3 separate regions of the Homo sapiens genome follow, and all the other regions are linked to region 2. The links are contacts of gene promoters, found by promoter capture Hi-C in blood cells and fetal thymus (Javierre and others, 2016). All regions are on one chromosome and are shown on one strand. The core of a region is centred on a gene start or on the middle of the fragment in contact, and the rest is flanking DNA. Distances in the headings are between cores, read along the strand shown.

Evidence for each region. The method cuts DNA at HindIII sites, captures the fragments that hold promoters and counts their contacts. A CHiCAGO score of 5 or more calls a contact.
Region 1: a fragment that was not itself captured here is called in contact with the fragment with the promoter of PLS1 in region 2 in 4 of 17 cell types (M2 macrophages, M0 macrophages, endothelial precursors and 1 more); the score reaches 7.6 in M2 macrophages.
Region 3: a contact is called between a fragment that was not itself captured here and the fragment with the promoter of PLS1 in region 2, in 1 of 17 cell types (megakaryocytes). The highest score is 5.0, in megakaryocytes.

What each region holds. Positions count from the first base shown.
Region 1 is chr3:142,847,610-142,851,836 of GRCh38, forward strand. It overlaps PCOLCE2 (procollagen C-endopeptidase enhancer 2), which reads right to left. Exons shown (of 9, transcript NM_013363.4): 3 at 608-863. Among named protein-coding and RNA genes, the nearest start is that of PCOLCE2, 39 kb to the right of the region's middle. The HindIII fragment of the contact is 582 bases long and covers 1,845-2,426 here.
Region 2 is chr3:142,594,102-142,598,721 of GRCh38, forward strand. PLS1 (plastin 1) reads left to right here and starts at 2,292. Exons shown (of 16, transcript NM_001145319.2): 1 at 2,292-2,408. PLS1-AS1 (PLS1 antisense RNA 1) reads right to left here. Exons shown (of 4, transcript XR_001740938.2): 4 at 1,808-3,196. RefSeq lists an enhancer at 2,348-2,587. The HindIII fragment of the contact is 10,696 bases long and covers 1-3,781 here.
Region 3 is chr3:142,787,084-142,791,429 of GRCh38, forward strand. TRPC1 (transient receptor potential cation channel subfamily C member 1) reads left to right here. Exons shown (of 13, transcript NM_001251845.2): 8 at 3,936-4,075. Among named protein-coding and RNA genes, the nearest start is that of TRPC1, 65 kb to the left of the region's middle. The HindIII fragment of the contact is 1,622 bases long and covers 582-2,203 here.

The sequences.
Region 1 (4,227 bases), core at 886-3,385, 250 kb after region 2:
ACTGCAGCAGTGACCTCCCTGGGCTCAGGTGATTCTCCTACCTCAGCCTCCCAAGTAGCTGGGACAACAGGTGTGTGCCACCACACCCAGATAATTTTTGTATTTTTTGTAGAGATGGGGTTTCACCATTTTGCCCAGGCTGGTCTTGAATTTCTGAGCTCAAGAGATCCACCTGCCCTTGGTCCCCCAGTGTTGGGATTACAGGCATGAGCCACCATGCCTGGGCTCCACTTTTATTTTTTAAAAGCTATTGTATAAGTACTCAAATAAAAGCAAGCACACATAGAAAGGTATGGGAACCACTGGCCATGGCTATTTCTGGAGAATGGACTATGGAGTGGTGAAGGGGTGTGTTTGCATATTTGCATGTGTGCTTATGTATGTAAGCTCCACATTTTTACTCTATGAATTTCTATACTTGATTTACAAGAATGCATGTGGACTTAAATTAAAAGGCTGATTTTTTGTATTGGTCTCATCATGGTTTGATGGCATTCACTAGCTCTTTGAGAACCACTCTTAAGCTTTAAAGGAGTAAATAAACATCAAGTGCCAAGAACAGTGAACCAACATTACTGTTGTTATTGCCATTATGTGGAAACAGTACCTCTTTCGTTTGGTTCAGCAGCGGAGAACATGGCCATGAAGCCATTGCCAGCTGTGTTGGCATCAGAAATCATCTGCACCATCATCTTGTTGCCACTGGACACAAGGGCTCCAGGCCGGAAAGTGCCACAGAAGCGGCCAATGCGCTGGCCATTGGCATGGCCATTGTACACATCCACAAAGTCATAGCGGCACAGGTTGTCACTCTCGAGGTCTATGAATCGGAAATTGAGAACGACTACTTTTCCTTCGGGAACCTGCCAAGAAAAGCGCCAATTAGAAAACTGTCATGAAAACAATATCTGAGGCTTTGACATCTAGTCACTTACTTAAGTGTGTAAAGTATAATATCCAAGATAATGCTTTTTCCTCTCTCATATCTGAACTAACCCAAGGGAAGTTTTCTAGCATATTGCATTCCTAAAAAATTTAAGTACTTATTTTCTTTTGACAAATTCTGCAATTCTCCAGGATTCACAATCTTATTCCTTAAGAACTTACCTCAACAAAGCTGCAAAATATTAGGTCAGTATTATTAATAGATGAGTCATTGCTTAGAATGAATACCAGTCCTGATTGGACCTTAGCATATATTTGCATATTCTAATACCTAGAGATATTGCTTAGCAAAGAAACATTTAAAAATATCATTTCTTGGCCAGGCACAGTGGCTCACATCTGTAATCCCAGCACTTTGGGAGGCCGAGGTGGGCGGATCACAAGGTCAGGAGATCGAGACCATCCTGGCTAACACAGTGAAACCCCGTCTCTACTAAAAATACAAAAGATTAGCCGGGTGTGGTGGGGGGCGCCTGTAGTCCCAGCTACTCGGGAGGCTGAGGCAGGAGAATGGCGTGAACCCGGGAGGCGGAGCTTGCAGTGAGCCGAGATCGCGCCACTGCACTCCAGCCTGGGTGACAGAGCGAGACTCCACCTCAAAAAAAAAAAAATCATTTCTTACAAATAATACAGTAGGACGCATTCAATGCCTGTGTATAGAATGTTTCTATGAAGTTCAAAATAGAGGATTTATTTGGCAATTGTGTAGTTAATTTACAGATAATTCATTTTGGGTCCTGAAACATCCAGATGAACTACCGATACTGACTAAATGAACTGAGTAATTGCTGAATCATCTCTTCTGAATGTCACTAAGTTTTTTGCTCATTTGTTTTCCAGGTGAAGACTTTATATGTCAGGAAGCCTTGAGACACAATGCGCTAATGAAGAAAAAGATAAGCTTTCATTTTATCATAATATTTTATTCATCATAATTTCCCCATAAAATTCTTAATGATGGTTCCTTCCTTATTCCCTGAGTAGGTAGAAAAAATGGCTATAAAAGCATTTGGTAGGATTCTCAGGTTACCAAAGCCCCATTTCTTTCCCAGTTCATACCACCTTTTAATTTCTTCATTCAAGTTGTTCAGTCATAAAGTCTTGATCATAATTGTTTTACTCCTTTAATCAGATGAGGTCTCCACTGAATAGTGGAGAATTCCATTCTGTAAAAACTTACATATAACAAAACTCAGTGATTAAAAAAATCAAACACACACAATCAAAAGTGGTTGGTTTATATTCATCTTAATTAACTATTTCAGACTCAAGGGTCAATAGATGCTTTGACATTAATACGGCTTCCCCATGTTGGTAAGTACAGTGCCATACGTTTTATTTTCCTATGGTAAGATGAAGTGTTTTCAGTGCTATTTGCTTTTTGTGTCAAACACATCTACACTTCATCGTAGAAATTATAATGGCGTAGTTCCCAAAAGGGACATGTTTGGATTTGCCATCGTTGCATTCTAATTCCTAGAAGCTTGTCTCAGTGGTGTGAATATCAGAGTTCCAAAGAACTTAGAACAGCTTAAGAAGCTAATAACAGAAAGAACAATTTAAATTTTAAACATTATCACCAAGATGTCTGTTGTAAAACTTCCTGTCTTTTGCTTTGTTTTTTGTTTTGCACACAACCTCTATTTGTACAATAATCAGAAAGTTATCAAAATATGATGCCACATCTGTAATCTTAAATATAAGCAGGCTCTCTATGAATCACCGAAAAAGTCCTAGCCATGAAAAGAATCTCAAACTAATTTGTTTTTTTCCTGCATGAATAGTGACTATTTGTATAAATGTATAGAGGGTAATTCAAAGCTACGAAACTTGATGAAGTCACTCCCAGAGTGAATGTGGATAGAAAAAGGAAGAGGTCTAAGTATAGAGGCCTGGAACACTCCAATGTCATCAAGTCTGTGAAGAGGTCAAACCACAATAGAGACTGAGTCAACAAGTAGGAGGCAACCAAAGTGTGTGGCGTCTGGAAGCCAGGCGAAGAGAGTATGTCAAGGAGGAATGAATGGGCAACTGAGTTAAGTGCTGCTGCTGAGAAAGACCAGTGGATTTAGCAACACAGAAGTTTAGCAACCAGAAGTCACTGGTAATGCTGACAAAGCTGTTCTGGTGGCACCATGGGGAGAAAACTGGATAAAAGGATCATGAGAAAATGGGGTGAGAGGAAATGGTGACAATAAATATAAACAAGCTTTTCAAGGAGTTTTGCTGTGAAGATGAACAGAATAATATGGGGGTAAGGAAGGGGATATGGGGTCTAAGCAGAGTTTTTGCAATGGGTGTTTCCTAAGGCATGTTTGCATGCTGATGGGAAGGATTCTGTAGAGAGGGCAAAACTGATGAAGCAAGAGAGAGGGAGGATTGCTTAACAGATGTCCTTGAGCAGGCAAAGGGGGATCTGATCTACAGAAGGAACAGCTGGTGGAGTTGGCCTTAGTAGGAGCAGGGACAGTTTTGCCCAATGACAGAAGGGAAGACAGATGTAGGTAGGTCAGTAAATGAGGTGGTGAAAGCATATATAGAATTTTTTTTCTGGATTGCTTTTCTTAGTAAAATAGAAAACAAGGTCATCAGCAGCAAATGTGGAAGAGAGAGGCACTACTGGGAATCTGATAACAGAAGAGAAAGTGAGGAAATGGATTAATGAAATGCAGCAGGAGTACCAGGACTGCTGGGGTCCACTTGAAGTAAATGAATTAAAATTAAGACCTCTCTGCATGGTGGCGATATTTGTTTTTGTTTGTTCGTGGTCTTCTTCCCCAGCCACATTCAGCTCCGTGGGCAAAGGTACAGGGCAGGTGGAGAGTTGGATATAAGCAGTAGGGGAGAGTGGTGAGGTTTGCCAAGGGAGGATATGGCAGGAGAGAAGGACAAGAGAGTTGAAGACATAGGCAAGGGAGTGACCATGATGATGTGCTGTGGAATCCAAACTGGGTTAGGATGGAAATCAGGACGCTGTGGGGTGAGGACAGTAACAACCAAGACTGTGGTGGAGTAAGGACAAAATAACAGTGGAAGTGGGAGGCTGAGGAACTATGGAGGATAAGTTATTTGGCGGAGAAGAGGTTAAAGACCTGAGAAGATCACCCATATAGATATTGAAATTACAGTTGATTAGGACAAGGAAGAGTGTTGAAGACAGTGACAGTGAACCAGGAGTTAAAATTTGCAAGAAGCGAGGAAGACTGTCCAGGAGGCTTTTAGATTATTTCATCAAGGAGAGGAATAGGGAGGTATAATCATGTTTCATTGGCAGGTTCTTGG
Region 2 (4,620 bases), core at 1,042-3,541:
TATATAATTATTACACGCTGGTTGTGCATTTCTTTTTTTTTTTTTTCTGAGACAGAGTCTCGCTCTGTCGCCCAGGTTAGAGTGTAGTGGCTTGATCTTGGCTCACTGCAACCTCTGCCTCCTGGGTTCAAGAGATTCTCCTGCCTCAACCACCTGAGTAGCTGGGATTACAGGCGCTTGCCACCACGACCGGCTAATTTTTGTATTTTTAGAAGAGACGGGGTTTCATCATGTTGCTCAGGCTGGTCTTGAACTCCTGACCTTAGGTGATCTGCCCACTTTGGCCTGCCAACGTGCTGGGATTACAGGCGTGAGCTACTGCACTGGGCCCTGGTTGTGCATTTCTAATGATATACTCTAGTTATTATTTTACACTTGGAAACAATTTTGGGAAACGGTTTTATCAATGGTATATTTACAAATCATATCTTAGGGTTGGCTGCTTTTACAGAGGGTTGTTACAGACATTTTATATGCATTATTTTTAGCTTCATTTACAGAGGATGACTTTTTATTTTACCTTTCCCAAATCAGGTTATACCATATTTAGAATCTACGTTTCCTCATGAACCTGCCCTGGTCAATATTACCACGAAAAAAAAACAGATCATAAGAGTATTTCATGAAAAAGTGTTCTCTTATCAAACTTATTGGTGAATAATTTACACACATTTTTCATGTTTAAAGTGTACAACTTAGCGATGACAGTTGTATACACCTGTGAACTTGTCACTACCATCAAAACAGAGAAAATTTCCATCGTCCCCCTCCAAAAATATTTTTTCTGCTCATTTGCAGTTTATCCTTCCCTCCACTCCTGGCTCCAGGCAATTACTAATCTGGGTTTTGTCATTATAGGTTAGTTTGTACTTCATATAAGTGGGATTATACAATATGTTTTGTCTCTAGCTTCTTCAACTCAGCATACCGATTTTGAGAGTTATCCATATTGAGTCCTGTGTGAGAGTATTTCTTCTTTTTTATTGTTGAGTAGTATTGCATTGTATAAATATACCACAATTTGTTTTTTCATTTACATGTTGTTGGACAGTTGGGTTCCTTCTGGTTTGGGGCTTTTGTGAAAAACAGCTGCTATGAGCATTCCTGTTCAAGTTTTTGTGTAAGCATATGTTTTAATTTCTCTTGGATAACATCTAGGAATGAAATGGCTGGGTCATATGTTAGATGTATGTTTACCTTTTAAGGAAATATTTTGCTTTATTTTGTGAGAACTTACTTAACTCCCCTTGCATATCTAGATAAATAAGTATCAGATAAGGATACTAAATTTACCAGATTCTCTAGGTGGCAGGTGGGAAAAATCAGATAAGAATACTAAATTCACCTGATTCTCTAGGTGGCAGGTGGGAAAAATTCCTTATCTTCCCTCTCCATGGCCCACCTACTTTCATAGTTCATTGCTCGTCCAATTTGTTTGAGTTCTTAAAATAATTTCAACTTCCCCCCTTTATTTTTTCTATTGTTACCATCTCAGGGTTGGTTGGGTGCCTATTCTGTATTGGATATTGTGTTAGGCGCAGAAGGGGCACGTGGGACTTTGAGTTAAAGGGGCAGCAAAACCTTGTTCTGTTCTCTGGACTGAGTTGGACAGACCACAACTACGGATTATGCTTCAGGCAAAGTATGTGAGAACTCTTGAGGCAGCATTCCATTTACCTGACTCACATGCGAGAGAAAATATCCCACTTTTGTTTGAGTGTGGGCTTTAGTTATATATTTATTTTAATCAGGTGTGGCTGTTAAAGGAAAAGGAAGCAATCCGTGAAACAAACGGAAAAAAAAAGAGTAGGGGAGAGAAACAAGTCTTCCTTTAATAACGTATACCTTTCCTTTTGACCAGCAGGTCCCAAAGTGTGGTACCCAGACTAGTAGCACCAGTTTTCGCTGAGAACATGTTAGAAATGGGAACTGTCGCGCTACGCTCCAGACCTAACTGAATCGGAAACTCAGTTTCCGGGTTTGGGATCTGTGATTTAAAAAGCTCTCCAGGTGATTCTGATCCACGCTCAAGTTTGAGAACTGCTGTGCTAAACTCATTCCCAGGGTGTAGGTGGTCATCTTTAGACTTGGGTAACTGTGGGCGGTAGAGATAACGTTGCCGCAGCGCCCGTCCACCTCTCCCCATCCACGCTCCCAGCGCCTGCAACTCCTCTTTCACCCTTAGCCTAAACCCAGGTTCTGGGCTTCCCTTTCCCTCCCCTGGGAGCCGCAGGCAAAACGCGGCAAGTGGATTCAGAGTTTGCGGGCCCGGGTGCCGGCCGAGCATGCGCAGTGGCGCGAGCGCAGCGGCTACGCGGGCGCGGAGAGGTAGCCGCAGAGTGGACCTGCAGGTACTTGGATCTCCAGTGGGAGCTGCCCTCTCGAAGGCAGGACAGCGGTGGCGGCAGGTACGCGGGGGTGGGGATAGGGCCCAAAAGGAAGGCTGGACAGACAGATGGAAAGCGAAGCGTTACTCCTTTGGGGGCGCGCGGCGGCTCGGGGGCAGTATCTCCGGGTCCCCTCGCTCGCGTCTCGTCTCCTGGCTGTGCAGTGTGGCGCCCGCCGTCCTCTGGGCACGCTTCTGCCCAGTCCCGGCAGGCAGTGCCCGCAGGTGTTAAATCGCGTATTTACACTGCTTAAACAATAAGCCTGTTAACTGAATTGTGATTCTATGCAATGAAATAAGGTATTTCATTAAGTTTTCTTCTTTCAACTTTGGGTGGCTGCCGGTGAGGCTTTCTGAACCAGCCTGTTTTGTTTTAATTCTGGGACTGGTTTATTTGCCTTTGGCCTTTTGGTGCATAGGATCAATAGGGCTGTAGTGAAATCCCATCCGTGCTGTTTTTGGTACCTTTCCTGGAGCATAGGGACCTCTGGATGCGGCATAAAAATGTCAGTTTTCAGCGAATTTCACTGCCAAAAAACTTTCCGTGTTTCAGCTGCATTTTCAAGTGGAGACTTAAAAAAATTTAAGATTTCTCCCTAACTTTTCAATTATTACTGTATTTCGGTCTTCATTTGGTACTATTAAAAGGAAGCGGTCGTTTAGATGAGTAACAGAATTCTCACTTTTCCTCCTTTACTTACTTACTATGTCACATTTTATGGCTTATACCGTGATATCTTTCCCTCCAGCCACGGTGTTGGATACACTTGTATGAGGCTTCAGCTGTGCTGCATAAATTTCTTGAAGAACCTGTGAGCCAGAAGCAAAATTTCAGGACAGGGGGCACACACTGAACTTGAAGCAAGTACTTTTACACCCCCCACCACCTTTGTAATCAGCTTTCCTTTAAGTTGAATTATGTAATGAAATTCTATAGTAAAGTGTTAATGTGTAATGTGGAGGCATATATATATATAGAGAGAGAGGTAGTAAGTTTAGGAAGAGGAAATTTTAAGTTCAGGAAGAGAAACCTATATGGAAAGGGAATACAGGTATCCTGCCCCCCTTCATTCCTCCCATGATAAATGTTTTAATGGCAGAAATAATATACAGCTGGTCTAGTTTTGGCTGTAGAGACCTTTGAGGTCAGCCAGTTCAGCTGCTTCAGTTTACAAATGAGAAAACTGAGACCAGCGAGGTTAGATGACTTGCTGTGGCCACCCAAGCCCCTCATTGGCAAAGCTAGGCCTGGGATCCAGGTTTTCTCATTTTCTGGGGTCTTTTTACCACTCCCTGCAGATACTCTTCTTTACCTCCATTATTAAACTTCCTTTTTCTCTTCTACTTATACCATGAAGTCTGGCTTAAGCAGAAAATTAGTTGTTTCTCTTACTAAGCTTCCTAGTACCTCATAAATTCCTTTCAAAAAGTGCCCTTTCACTGAAGCCCCACCTAACAATTTGCTGGTCCTGAAAACGCCCTCCTTCCTTCCCTCAGTCACCTGGGCCCTTTGCCCAAAATGCCTGTTTGCCTCCCTCTTTCCGTATTGAAGTCCTGCTCATGCTGCAAGGTGTAGCTCAGGTGTGACCTCTTTTTGGAAGCCTTCCTTGATTGCCTTAGCATGAAGTAGCTCTCCCTCTTCTGAACCCTATAGCACTTACTACTGTTGTTTGTGCTGTTAGTATCCCCATTGTATATAGTATCCTGAGTATTTTAGCACCTCCCAACTTCCCGACCAGGAAGTTGGCAGGTTGTGTAAGCTCTTGGAGGTTAAAGCCTATGACTTAAACATCCCACCCAGCACTAAGCACAAAGTATATTCTTAGCCCCTGTTTGTGGGAGGGAGTGGGGGAAGGAAGTGCAGTATGTATAGTTTTGTAAAGAGATTTCATGTGTGTTCTATAATATGGGGAAGGCCATGTTAGAGCTGTATCAAGACAGCAGCCAAGTCCATTTCTGATTCCTCATATTTTGATAACAGATCACAGATTAGTTAGGGGGATTACAGGAGACAGGCGTAAAAACACGGGTCAGTTGGTCCAGGCCCTGGATTAAGCCTGTGACTCAAAGTGGAGAAAAGAGGGCACAGAATTAAGAAATGTAAAGGAAGAAGCATGTGGTGAAAGACTAAATGCAGAGAAGGAAAGACATGTTGAAAATGAATTTCAGGGTTGGGGTGTTAGTAATGGGTTTATAATGTTCTTTTTATCTTAAAAGTACCTCCAATTGGCTGG
Region 3 (4,346 bases), core at 143-2,642, 190 kb after region 2:
ACACACATAATATGATTAATTTTCTAACCATATTCTACCTCACTAGAAGAATGCATGTGCATTAAGCCAGTAAAATTCCTGGAAGTATCTTCCTTTCCTCAGCACAGCTTCTGCTTTGAAACAGTTTGATCTGAATAAGCCTTGCCAAGGAAGTCTTCTTAAGCCTTTTATGTAATTAGGTCACTCTGGGCTTTTTTTCAGTATATAGATCCAAACCGGCTCTAAGTGAGCATGGAGGAATATTTTGCTTGCTTGCCTAAATAAAGTCATTGCTTGGTTCAACTTACTATTTCAAGCAATGAACACAGTGACTTTTTAACTCATCATGACCAATTTTTGTATATTTGTTTTGTTTGCTTTCATTAGCTTTTCAGAAAAAAGTAAGGTTAGGTTATAAAAAGCAAGGTAGGTAAAAAGAGAATAATTTGTTGAGGAATGCACAGAATATTAATGGTATCCTTTTACTTAATTTTTGCTATTAAACATAATAGAATGGCTATTATAGAAATGTATTTTTTAAATGTCATGTACCTACTTTGTCTAAGCACAGGCAAAAGCAGATATGGCCCATACACTCGTGAAGCTTATGATCTAATAAAAGCCAAATAAAACCATCAAAAACTTGACTTGAGAATCATATGGAAAAATGAAAACTCAAAAATGGATTAAGTGCTATTGGTTAAAGATCATAGTGTTAGGAGAGTAAGCATATTATAGGGGCATTTGCCCTAGTCAGGGAGGTTGGGAAAGACACGTTGAGGAAGTAATAAGTGAGCTAAGATCTAAAAGATAAATAGATGTCAACTGAGAGAACTGGGAGAGGAAGCTACTCTAGGCTGAGATAAAAGCACATTCAGAAGCTCAGTGGCAAGAGAGAGAATGGTACAAAGAAGGGTCTGAGTAAAGGCTAACATTTCTGGAGCAGGGAGAACCAGGAGAGCTTGATTCAAGATGAAGCTACAGAAACATATTGTACCAGACCATGCATGGCCTTGTAGGTCAGGTTAAGTAATTTTGACTTTATATTAAGAACAAGGGGAAACCATTGCCTACCTGAAGTAGGCAAGTGACATGATCAGTTTTGCCTTTCGAAAAGATCATTCTATCTACAGGGTGGAGGATGAGCTGGGAGGATAGTGCTGTGGCAGGAGTAGATGGAGGGAGACCAATATCGATGCTGTTGCACTAATCCAGATGAGAGCTGATGGCACCTTGGACTTAGGGTGATTGTGATAGAGAAAGAGAGAAGGGAACAGACTTCAGAGATATTTATAATGTAAGGCCAGTAGGACATCGAAATACATAGTATATGAGAGGTGAAGGAAAGGGAGATTATTAAGCAATATTGGTCTTTTGGAAGAGTACTAGGCTTGGGGATTTGTGTGTTGAGGGGTAGATCCTGAGTACAGTTTCGGATATGTTGAGTTTGAAAAGCCTTTGAGATATTTTTTAAATATCCCTTTTAGGGATGTCAAGCAGACAGTTGGTCTGGAGCTTGAGTTAGAAAGGTATGCATATCTGAAAATAGGTGGTATATGAAACTATAGGCATAGGTGAGACACAAGGAGAAAGATAAATTGAGAAAAAGAGAGGACCTAAGATCAAGCCCTTGAGAAATCCCAAGATGGCTGGGATTGCTGCCTTCTAATGTTATTATTAACATTAATTCTAAAAAAAATAGACCCTAAAATATAGAATGTTGGTTATGTAGTGTTTGTATTGCTTGGATTAGTTTCAACTTACTATGTTCTTTGTGATCCAGCTTGGAAACATGCAATACATCAAGTGTATTAGCTTCATTTTTGTGGGGGTATTGCAGAGGAGCTGGGAAACTAACCAATTGGTCTTCACTGTACTTTCATGTCTGTCTTTTTTGATCAACAGTTTTCTCCAATTCATGTTGTAAGTTTTTGTTAAGAGTTTCTTTTAGGTAAAATATTGCATTTCACAGAAATAAACACATTTCTGTAAACATCTTTCTTAGTTTGATGTTTTAAATATTAACAGGAGTGTATCTAAAGTTTAAATATAAGGGTTTTTGTTTGAAGATGTTTCATAAATAAGGATTCGCACACATCAGGATCTAGAATTAGACAATAATTTTGAGTCTTCAAGAAAGTATGGTCATGGAGGATTTGTTTAATATGTTTCTGCTCCACAGCTCTGAGTGGTAGGTGAAGGTTGAACATGAGAAATATCAGAAAGCTTTCATCCCTACTCCTTCCCCAAATAAAACAGTATTTGAGTTAATAAAATGTTACCTGCTAGACTATTTCATTTTACATTTTTAGACAGTTTTCATCTATTCATTTTGAGTAAAAACATACTAAGGTGGAATTGTTAAAAATGTTTTTCCTGTCAAATCTGCAAATGTTTTAAACACTTTTTTTCTGTATAAAATATGGGTACTGCATAATTAAGATGTTTTGAACAGAGATCTTCAAGAATGTTTCTTGTGTTTCCCAGGGGAATTATTTTGCCTACTGATAAGCCAGAGAATGATTCTGATTGGCCTAATTTGATCTCCACCCATGTGTGATGCTACAGCACTCTATTCTTTTGTTACTCTGTAGTCTCCCCGAAAATGACTTAATGAAGGAATGTACCATAAAATGATCCTGAATTATGTTACTGAAGTCTGGTACCCATAAAAATATATAGTTATAGAGGAGCTTCTGGCCAAAAAACGGAAAGTTTTTCTGTTTGTTTGCTTTGGTTTTTATTTTTGTATATTTATTCATTTGGCAATATTTTTTAGCACCTTGTTTGTATCAGGTACTTTTCAGGACATTTGGAAACATCGGTAAATAAAACAAAGATTCTTACCCTTGAAGAGCTTACCCAAAGTGGGGGAAAGATAATCAATTAATAATAGACCTAATAAGTAAATTATATTCAGTGTTAGAAAAGAGATAAGTAATACAAAAGAAAGGTAAAAGCAGAGTTAGGAGAATTGGGAGTGGGGGACAATTTTAAAGTTGCAAAGAGTTTGCAATTTTAAATAGGGTAGTCAGGAAGGGTGATGAGCAAAGACATGAAAAAGTGAGGTAGTTAGTCAAATGGATCTCTGGGTGAGGAGGGTCCAGCCAGAAGGAAGAGCCAGTATAAAGGCCCTAAAGGCAGGAGTCATGTGTTCAAAGAACAGCAAGGAAGCAAGGAGGCCAGCGCGACTAGAATAGTACAAGGAAAGATTAGTAGGAGATGAGGTCAGAGAGGATAGGTAATTTGGAGACTTGCAGGCCATTGTAAAGACTGGTTTTGATTCTGAGTAAAATGGGATTTAAGGGAGGGTGCAGTGCCCACTATGCACAATGAGCAGCAGTGGTTTTGCATTTTTTTGACATTTGCACTCACAGAACAAAACAGGCTGAAACCTGGTACTAGGTTTACTTAAATTTGTAGAAGTAAAAGATTTGAACTTAAATATATAAACTTGAGAGCCTTTGCCATGTAGATGATATTTAAAGCCATTAGATTGGGTGAGATCATTAAAGTAGTAAGTATAGGTAGAGAAAAGAAAAGGATCAGGGACTGAGCCCCTTGTGCGGGGGTGTGTACGTGTGTGCGTGCACATCCATGTGTGTATCCGTGTGTGTCTCCGTGTATGTTTGTATCCCTGTGTATGCATCCATGTGCATGCATCCGTGTGTGTGTGTTTGTGCCCATGTGTGTTTGGCATTAATTTATTTGGTTTCTTACGTTTGTTCCACATCCAAAGATGAAACTTAAGGTTATTTTCTTCAAGTCGTATGAAAGTTAAGGTTATTTTCTTTCAGATTTTAAGAACTTTTCACTAAAATGTTTTTGGTTTTGTTTTTTTTTCTTTTGAATAAGGCCCAAGGATTATTTATTTAATATTTTGAGTCTTAAAGTATTATTTAGTTTATTTATTGAATTAAGAAAGTGTTATCTGATTTTTTTCTTCCTTTTCTCAGGGATGATTTGGTCAGACATTAAAAGACTCTGGTATGAAGGGTTGGAAGACTTTTTAGAAGAATCTCGTAATCAACTCAGTTTTGTCATGAATTCTCTTTATTTGGCAACCTTTGCCCTCAAAGTGGTTGCTCACAACAAGGTGACTATTTACTATGTCAATTGAAGGCACAAATTAAGTTTATTTTGGAAATAGCTAAGATATTTAGCTATGTAACTCAGAGTTACATTGAGCCAGATCAGTGTCTGGTGTGTTTTCATTTTAAGCCTATCTGTGTGCACATAGTTTCCTATTTTTCCAGTAGTTTACAGGTGTTACTTACCTTTACATGATGGTTATTTATTATATAACAGGGACCATAGTTCACATTTGGTATACTTTATCTCTTTTTATCTACACTGGGATTCTTTGA